Linked DNA regions of Homo sapiens: all the other regions are linked to region 1. The links are contacts of gene promoters, found by promoter capture Hi-C in human tissues and cell types (Jung and others, 2019). All regions are on one chromosome and are shown on one strand. Each heading gives the region's core, a stretch centred on a gene start or on the middle of the fragment in contact. The rest is flanking DNA. Distances are from core to core; before and after follow the strand shown.

Region 1 (3,207 bases), core at 522-3,021:
TGGGAAATCCTCTAAAAATGAGATCATCTAGCCAAGGGAATAAAAAAAAAATCTGAGCAGAGATATGCTAATTTAAACCATAAATCAAGTAATCTGTATTGGCCTTCATATTTTGACTTATCAAATTCCAAGAGATAATTTTCTGTGTTATCCCAGCAAGTTGTTGTTGAGAGGCAGTAAAATGTATAGGGTTTGGAACCACACAAGACATGAGCTTGAACCCTGAACTCATACTCTAAATTATTCTTCCAGCGAGGATTCTTTTACATCTCTGAGTCTCAATTTCTTACCAGTAACATAGAAATGACAATCTCCAAAGGATTGCGCGCCATGAGAATTTGTGACTACCTGAAATGTTTAGCACAATGTCTGTCACATGGACTTGGTAGACGTATAAGTAATGGTAATTCTTTTAACTTCCCGCACAACATTCCACTGTGATCACCCCATATCTTAAATATAAATTCTACCACTAACCCTGTAGATTGCCAGTGTTTCCTGGTTTCCAGAAGGTCACAGCCATACAGGCAATGTATTAGAAAAGAGGTAACCAGTGCTCTTAAGAGTCTGAAAAGCAACCTCAATTTATTCAAATAACACAGAATATTTTTATTCAAAGGGCCATTGAAAGGAGAACATGTTTATTTGGACATCTTCCTTGTAGGTGGTCTGAGAGGGAAGCCCATGATAACCACTATGTTTTTATATGTTACATACTTTGCCAGTATTTTAGAATGCACTTGTTAAAGGATCTGAACTTTATTGGATTCATCACTCAGTATTCCTCAACTATTGTTTCTAGTATCTGACTCCACACTCTCTATAAGAAGAATGCTATAAAAAGATTAGAAATCACCAGGCACAGTGGCTCATGCCTGTAATCCCAGCACTTTGGGAGGCCGAGGCGGGTGAATCACCTGAGGTCGGGAGTTCAAGACCAGCTTGACCAACATGGAGAAACCTCATCTCTACTAAAAATACAAAATAAGCCAGGCATGATGGCACATGCCTGTAATCCCAGCTACTCAGGAGGCTGATGCAGGAGAAACACTGGAACCCGGGAGCGGAGGTTGAAGTGAGCTGAGATCATGCCATTGCACTCCAGCCCGGGCAACAAGAGTGAAATCCCATCTCGAAAGAAGAAAAGAAAAGAAAAAAAAGAAAAGAAAAGAAAAGAAAAGAAAAGAAAAGAAAAGAAAAGAAAAGAAAAGAAAAGAAAAGGAGAAAGAAAGAAGGAAGGAAGGAAGGAAGGAAGGAAGGAAGGAAGGAAGGAAGGAAGGAAGGAAGGAAGGAAGGAAGGGAAAGAAAAGAGAAGAAAGCAAGAAGAAAAGGAAAAGATTACAAGTCATGTCTAGAAAATCATCCTAGTGATAAATGTAGCCTGAAATATGTTACTGTCTATTAAAATTGCCAAATATTATTCTAGATAAATGCTCACTCCTTTATTCTCAACAATACTGCCACCAGTATTTGTCAACAATACTGCCCCAGTAGGGACCGAGACCCGCAAGAAACTCAATATTCTTGGCTTTTCTTACCTCTAATGTAGAAGCAGAGTTTGAGTTAAGCAATCTCTCAGGTTCTATAGGATCACTTCCATAACCCATCTCTGATGATAAACATCTCTGAAGGTCAGGAGGGGGTTTAAGAGTCTCATGAGGATGCAAGTCAGGGAGAGGGCTAAAGAAACACTTTTTCTGAGACATCTCCCTGCACAGAACTCTGCTTGTGTGAGCTCAAGGCTTCTCTATCTCTTGGTGTTCTACACTCAGAACTCAGGTATCCGCTCCCCAGCTGGCAGTTCCCTCTCCTAGAATGAAGGATAATAGTCAGTAAACAACTAAAGATCATTAAACTAAACAACTAAAGATTGCCCGATAGTGGGATGGAAACAGCGGGAAAAGTGGAGTCAGACTATCCAGAACCAGGCTCTCATTCCCGGATTTTTGAAGGAAAAGGAACTAAGTGAACTAGTTGCCAGGACAACCTGCTGTCGGGGAGCGGGGGTGAAGAAAGAAATGGGTGACCTGTGGTTATTCCTGCTCCTGCCCCTCTCAGCCTTCCATGGAGTCAAAGGCTGTTTAGAATGTGACCCCAAATTTATAGAGGATGTTGGCTCCTTGCTGGGAAATCTGATACCTTCAGAAGTCCCCGGCCGAACTCAGCTGCTTGAACGGCAGATTAAGGAGATGATTCATTTAAGCTTCAAGGTCTCCCACAGTGACAAGAGGCTTCGGGTGTTGGGTGAGGGAAGCTTGAGTTCCTGAGAGTCCAGGGGCTTAAACGGAGAAGGGAGGCAAGGAAGAGAACACCTGGGTCTACATAACTTCCTGCATAGATGTAATTATTCCCCTACATGTACCTTTACTCTCCCTCTCTAGCTGTTCAGCAGGTTGTTAAGTTGAGAACATGGTTGAAGAATGAATTTTATAAACTGGGCAATGAAACATGGAAAGGTGAGGTACTGTTTCAATGTTAAAAGTTTGTATTGCTCAAGCAAGCCTCAGAAAATTTGGCTGGGGAAAACAAAGATAAAAACAGACATAATTAACTTCTGAAGGGAAGAGCTACTTCTATTTTTTGACACCCCTTCCACTCCCTCTTAGGTGTCTTTATCTATCAAGGCAAGCTTCTCGATGTCTGCCAAAACCTGGAATCCAAACTGAAAGAATTACTAAAGAACTTCTCTGAAATTGGTAAGTAAAACTTTCTATATAACAGCACTGAAGTTATATGAAGGGAATAGAAAATGCGGGATGAGGGAAGAAATGCAAGTTCATAATAGAGTTATTTAGAATGGGTGGAGAGGTAACTGGAACTTAAAGGGTAAACAAAGACTACTTGGGTATAAATATGGCAAACTGTAGCTGGTTTTAAACTCATTAGAACTTTCTGATTCTCTTCTAGCTTGTTCTGAAGATTGCAGTGAGTACAGTACATGTGACGCCTTGAGGTTTCAGCCCATATTTTCCCATCTCCTTTGCTCTATATGGCCCTATCTCTCCCACCTGTTACACTGGGAAACCAATTCCTAGAGCTGTGGTTACAAGGGGTAACGTCAACAATACCTGATAACGAAACCTAGCTCATGAAATCTCAGACACCCCACATATTTTTGAGGTACTAGGAGGCCTTCTAACATATGGTTTACAACCCATTGCCCCAGTATAAGCTGAGGCATCCTTTTCCCGCTTTTTCCTGGAGATC
Region 2 (3,207 bases), core at 270-2,769, 200 kb after region 1:
CACCTCCACCCTCCCTGGTTTTGGACAAATATGGAAATCCCTTTGCATTCTCTTTCATCTCCAAAATGTCTGGCATATTCCCCATCTCTGACGACCATGCCGATATAGATATATAGCTTGATGGACATCAGTGATAAATGAAATGTTTTGTAGGATTATTGATCTTAATGCTACTTAAAGCCTTAGAGATTTAAAGAGGAAGGAGCTTTATACATTGCTGACTCCAAATCTACTACCTTCTCTCTCTGGTCTTTAGATACCTCTATTTAGTTTAGTCCAATACTCATGTTATACCACACTTTATCCCTACATTTAACTTTCCAACTCCTAAAACAGAAGCTCTCATTCCTAGCTGCATAGTAGAATCGTGTGACACTTTAAAGATACTAAGCTCATAACTGCAATGGTTTTAAATGTGCTTGATCATTAAAATCACTAGAAGAGCTTTCAAACTGTATATTGTACCCATGACCAACAGAATTAATATATTTGGGGTGAGGCCCTAGTATTTTTTTTCAGAAGCACCTAACGTAATTCTGATATTCATCTTAGCGTAGACACCACTGCTCTATTGAACCACACGACGCTCAATGTGTCTTACCTCATCAAGTCATACCTCACACTTCAACTTGGATTTAGGAAAATGAGGAGCAAAAATCGTAAAGCACATGATTTTTTTTGATGTGGTATTTTTCTGATGTCTTAAATATAAAGAAGATACACTTTTCTTTTTTTTGAGACAGAGCCTTGCTCTGTCACGCAGGCTAAAGTGCAGTGGTGCAATCATAGGTCACCACAGCCTCAAACTCCTGGCCTCAAGTGATCCTCCCACCTCAGCCTCCCTAGTATCTACGACTACAGGTGTACACCACATGCCTGACTAATTTTTTATTTTTTGTTAAGATGAAGTCTTTCTATGTTACCCAGGCTGGTCTTGAATTCTTGGTCTCAAGTGATCTTCCTGCCTCTGCCTCTCAAAGTGCTTGAATTATGGATGTGAGACACCACTCCTGGCAAGAAGACATACTTAAATAGAGATATTACACTCTTGTAAAGGGTTTCCACTCCTCCTGGGGTAGCTTTTGGAGTAATTCTGACTTGTTGAGACCTCTACTCCTGGAATATCACAAATGCTCAATCTATCACTGACTATGAGAAACCCATTAAACAGCAAGTAGAACTCCCCTCACTGTGACAGGGTGTCTACCTATATACTGAGAGAAATGTAAGAGGCTGAGTGTGAAAACTGCAAATCAATATGTAGAAACCATGATAAATATGCAAACTGGTGATATAAAAACAAAGCACATATGGCAAGCATCAAGAGATGGACAGGTTCCTATACTAAACAAGACCTTTTTTCTTCATTCTCTTCCCCATCTCACATTTTTCTTCAAGGTTTATTTCTAGACATATCACATTCTGAAAGAAAATGAGCTACGCTGACAAAACTGGTACTCTGTGGTTGGCTGGTTGCCAGATAATATTCTCTTTCTATATACAAGATTTTACTTTTAATTAGCCTGGATAATTACTATTGAAATATATACCTATTTCTGTGTATTTGCTTCCTGGTATCTTTCAGACACTTGATGAGGATAGAGTGGTGAAAAAAATAATCATAATATGAACCATTTTTGACATTAAATCCTGTTGCACAGAGCCTCATAGCTACATGGCTATTTCTCTTAACTCGTTTGATATTCTATTTATAACACAAGCTCAAAAAGCCAGATGTGTTCACCCACTATCTTGTTTCAGATATACAGCACTTTCCTTACTGGAGCCTGAATAGAAAAATATCAAAACTGTCTCCCCTCCAGTTTCATTTGATCTACAGATGACAATTCATTAAGTAGCCCATCTGATTTGAAAAAGTCGAAGAGCTAAATAACACAGACAAGGATAAAAATATGAAGCTTTGGAAATCGTAGACTATTTAGCACCTGGAGTCCTAAACCTCATGTGAAGACTGCTCTAAGTCACTTCATTTTTGTGGCCTCAGAAACAGAGAGAAGAAAGTCTTCTATAAAAGTAAAAACACCCTGAAAAGAAAAACCTTGCTGACTAGGAGATATGTTTGTTTTCTCATAGCACGTTGTGCATACTGCTGCCACAGGATTTGTCACACTGTTTACCTGCCCACTTCCCCCATGATTCTGAGACCTTGTTAGGGGCAGAGACCATATTCTACCTGGGTCACTGACATTCATTACAAGCACTTGATAAATGAGCCCCTTTCAATTTATTTTTAGATAAAAACTATTCTTAACTTATAAAGAAGGAAAGTAGACTACCAAGATGGAATGCTGAAACACATGCTTTCTATAGCCTGACTTCTTGAATTCAAATCTTAGTTCTTTCACTTACTATCAGTCCATTTTGTGCTCCTACACCAAAATATGTGACAGTGTGTAATTTATGAATAACAGAAATATATTTGTCACAATTCTAAAGGCTGGGAAATCCAAGATCAAGGTGCTGGCATTTGGTCTGCTGAGGGCCTTTTTGCTGTGTCCTCCGATGGCAGAAAGCAGAACAGCAAGCTGGCTGAATTTTGCAGGAAGACTTTTTAGAAAAGGGCATAATCCCATTAACAAGGAAACCAGCTTTCTTGGCCTAATCATCTTATAAAGGCCCAACTGCTTAACACTATCACAGTTACAACACCTGAATTTTGGAAGGGACACACTCAAACTACAGCAGTTACTTTGGGCAAGATACTTAATATCTCTCAACCTCAGTTTGTTCATTCTAAAGATAAGCTTATAATAGTATTTACTTCATAAGGCTATAACAAGGATTAAATGAATCAACAGGCAAAGTGCTTAGAACAGGGCCTACCATACATCACATGCTATAGTGTTCACTACTTTTATATGCTGTTGTATATACGACCTCAATCTTACCACTTATCATCTGAGATAGACACTACTGTCCCCATTTACAGATATAAAAGCAAAGGCCTAACTAAGCTGTTAAGTGGCAGATATATTATTATTATTGAGAGAGAAAGAGAAAGAGAGAGAGAGAGAGAGAGAGAATGAGAGACAAGGTCTCACTCCATTGCCCAGGCTGGAGTACAGTGGTATGATCACGGCTCACTGCAGCCTTGACCTGCCCAGGCTCAGGTGATCCTCCCACCTCAGTCTCTCAAGTAGCTGGACTACATGCGTGTGCCACCATACTCAGATAATTTTTGTATTT
Region 3 (3,207 bases), core at 528-3,027, 190 kb before region 1:
TAAACCTTATTTGGGACAAGTAATATCACAAGGAGTCTATAGTTGAGATTATACATTTGTTAATTTAGTCTTTCTAAACATTGTATCATTGTTAACCCAGATTTTGCTTTTCCCTATTCCAGTCCTGACTCTGGCCTTCTCAAGTTATTAACTCTGCCTCTGTACTCAGGTCTTAAATCTCAGTTCTGTCATGAGAACCTTCAGGGGAGCTTTCCTTGTTCTTAACCAGATCAGATGCACTCATCTAATCCTTCATTTTTATATTTCTCACAGTTGCAAGACCATATTAAATTGTCATTCTTTTATAATTGCCTGCCAAATGCAAACAAGACTCTAAGCTAAATGAGAGCCTGAAAATATCTCCTCCATCTTTTCCTGCCCTATCTCCCTTGACATTGAATCTTCAGAGCTAAGGAACAGTGCTTGACATCAATCAAGCAAACTTTACGGGATAAATGAACAAATGAATACACAAAGCAATGAAATTAGGAGTCTCAAAGACAGATAATGAAAAATTAAGTCTTTCTACGGGCTTTATAAAAGTAGATTAACATAACAGGTAAGATGAAAGCGGTACCTCTTGGCCAACCTTTGATATTACTGATAGGGAAATTGAAACCTAGAAAGTTTAACAAAATGGCTAGTGCCAAAGATTTTTGCACACTGACTTATGCACTGATTCCACTTTTTTCTTCAAAGATTTGAGATATCATACAAGGATTTATTAATTCCAGTAACAAACACTATATAAATGTATGCCCTCAATTATTCAAAAAGACTTCATGCGTTCAGAAGTACTCCAATGAACCTATCTCCCAAAAGTTTATTTAATGTTGATGACAGCGCATGTAAGCACATTCTGCCATAAAGTGTGCAGACAAAGTAGTGGTAAAGATACTTTTAATACTGCCCTACCTATTGATGCTAATTTGTATAAAATGCAAATGAGAATGTGTATTCATCAACGCCCTAAATGTTTGAAAGTTGTATTATCTTTACAACCTTCTTTCCTTTATGCTGCTGTGACACTTCAGAAGAGCAGAGTACTAGCCTGAACAGGTCTACAATTCCATGTAGTTAAATATGTGCTGCTACCTGACGCTGTGCCATATAATACATTTTAAATAAATGTTTCATCTGCTCTCTGTGCTAGGAGGTGATTTTACTCTGAAGGGCATTATTTTATGAATTCAATAGCAAATACTACAGTAGGCCTAGAAGTGGCCTCTTGGGCTTTTCTTGATCTATTCTTGAACCTTCAAACAGTTGGAATATTTTAACCATTACGTAAACAAGTATTGGCCCACATGCTGATACCTTAATGAATTCAGGACAGGATGATCAGAATTAAGCACTAAGACGTTAAAGTTTAATCATCTCTAACTCTTTACTTTGGTTTTTTCCCACCTAAGTTTTCTGTGGATGCTGAGTGTGGCAGAATGCTAAAGCAATCTTTGGAGACACTAGAGAATATAAAGAAACAGGAAAAGTTGTGATAGGAGCTTGGCAGTTCAGCAACCTCCCTTTGCCTTGGGAAGAGCAGAAAGTTTGCAGGCCTACAGGAGCCATTGCCACCTAGAGTGTTCTAGGTTCCAAACTTAAAACAAATAAAAAGGGAGGAAATATGACATCCTTTCCAAAATACCAATGATGCACAGACATAAGCCGCATGCCTAATGAAGAATCTTATATTGCACTTTAAGATCATTTTCCTCTGTCTGGTCTTTATCTGCATTTCCTGACTAACTTCTGCATTGATTTTTCTAATTTATATGATTTTGTGTCAAACTATGACAATGCATTTTAGATTGTATCTTCACTTTGCTTAGCTTTTAAATATATTACAATTCTTATTTATAAGTATACAAATTCTATCTCGGTTAAAGTGCTCTTAATTACAGTTCAGTATTATATACATATGTTATATATATGTTTTTTCATATATATATAAATTATTTAAAGAAATAGTTTTCTTTTTAAAAAATGTCTTTTGTGACTGAATCTTTGTCCAAAGGTCAATCCAGTTCACTCTCTACCCATTTAAATATAAACACTGGAATAAGAAAGAATGACCTTATCATCCACACAAACAGAAAAATCTTCACACCCCTGTACCTGGGGTAAGTTAGCTGCATGAGCTAGTGCATGCTATTATAGCTACTTGGAAGATAAATTAGAGTGGAAATAAAATCATACATGCATCATAAAATATAACCAGGACTGACTAAATAATCTATGAGGTCCAGTGCAAAATGAAAACATAGGGCCCCTTTTCAAAAATTAAGAATTTCAATATGGGAAAAGCCAAATATTAAATCATGTGTGGGGCTTATTTAAGCTTGGGTCGTGTGACTGAACAGGTCCCATACTCATGTAACTGGCCCTGATTTCCATTATTTTATCTTAATTTCTATAGATGATTTTCTTAATACTTTTTTTGAAGTGGTACAGTAATAACTCTAAAGGATGTTTTCTTCCTTGGTTAAACTTGGCCTTTGACATTTAAACTGTTTGAATGATACTAATTTAAGATAAAATCACTAGACTGGTTGATTGAAATATAAACTAGTGATATAAAAAAAAACCTTCATAAATAACAAGTTGAAGACTGTTCTCAGAGAAAGTAATAGAAATGCCAGAGAAGTTTTGGGCTTTACTGTGTTTAGAAATGTTTTACACTGAGAGATTAAAAACACCTGAAGAATGAATGAACAAAAATGGTGTAAATAAAATTTTTATCTGAACCTAAATAATTAATTTGGTGAGAGCTGAGATGTTGATTTGAAAAAGATTTGTGGTTAGCTGACAGTGGAAATAAGGGGGTGAGGCAAGGTGAGCTTAAGAAAGTTTTTTTAAGTACAAATAAAAGTTAAAAGCATTGTGTCAATTTGTACTTGCAAGTGGCTTTTCTGTTGTTCTTGCTGGAGTATTTTGTGCTTTACACTTAAATATGAAGCTTTATAGCTAATAGACTTGCTGCTTAAACAAACGTAATAGTGATGTGAGGATATTGAATGATACAGCCTAGCTTAATCTCCTGTTTAATGGTGATGCTAATGGATCTACCTTAATATGCTCCTCCAGTGAGTCACCACAAATCCTACTGTGGCTGACTTCAGAAGAGAACACATATTATTTCCAAAGTTAAAACTGTGCCAGGGTCCTTTCCTGAAAGCAGTATTTTATGCAGAGTCACAGTAATATCTC

What was found. The method cuts DNA at HindIII sites, captures the fragments that hold promoters and counts their contacts. A contact is called where the count stands out against the background at its distance.
Region 2: a contact is called between a fragment that was not itself captured here and the fragment with the promoter of IZUMO3 in region 1, in 4 of the 25 tissues and cell types used here (H1 embryonic stem cells, mesendoderm cells, pancreas and 1 more).
Region 3: a contact is called between a fragment that was not itself captured here and the fragment with the promoter of IZUMO3 in region 1, in 6 of the 25 tissues and cell types used here (dorsolateral prefrontal cortex, lymphoblastoid cells, mesenchymal stem cells and 3 more).

What each region holds. Positions count from the first base shown.
Region 1 is chr9:24,544,461-24,547,667 of GRCh38, reverse strand. It overlaps IZUMO3 (IZUMO family member 3), which reads left to right and starts at 1,771. Exons shown (of 7, transcript NM_001365008.2): 1 at 1,771-2,244; 2 at 2,382-2,456; 3 at 2,607-2,696; 4 at 2,908-2,925. The coding sequence starts at 2,019. RefSeq lists an enhancer at 2,122-3,207. The HindIII fragment of the contact is 4,602 bases long and covers 1-2,442 here.
Region 2 is chr9:24,341,955-24,345,161 of GRCh38, reverse strand. No RefSeq gene overlaps it. Among named protein-coding and RNA genes, the nearest start is that of IZUMO3, 200 kb to the left of the region's middle. The HindIII fragment of the contact is 4,200 bases long and covers 1-3,207 here.
Region 3 is chr9:24,731,843-24,735,049 of GRCh38, reverse strand. No RefSeq gene overlaps it. Among named protein-coding and RNA genes, the nearest start is that of IZUMO3, 190 kb to the right of the region's middle. The HindIII fragment of the contact is 7,028 bases long and covers 1-3,207 here.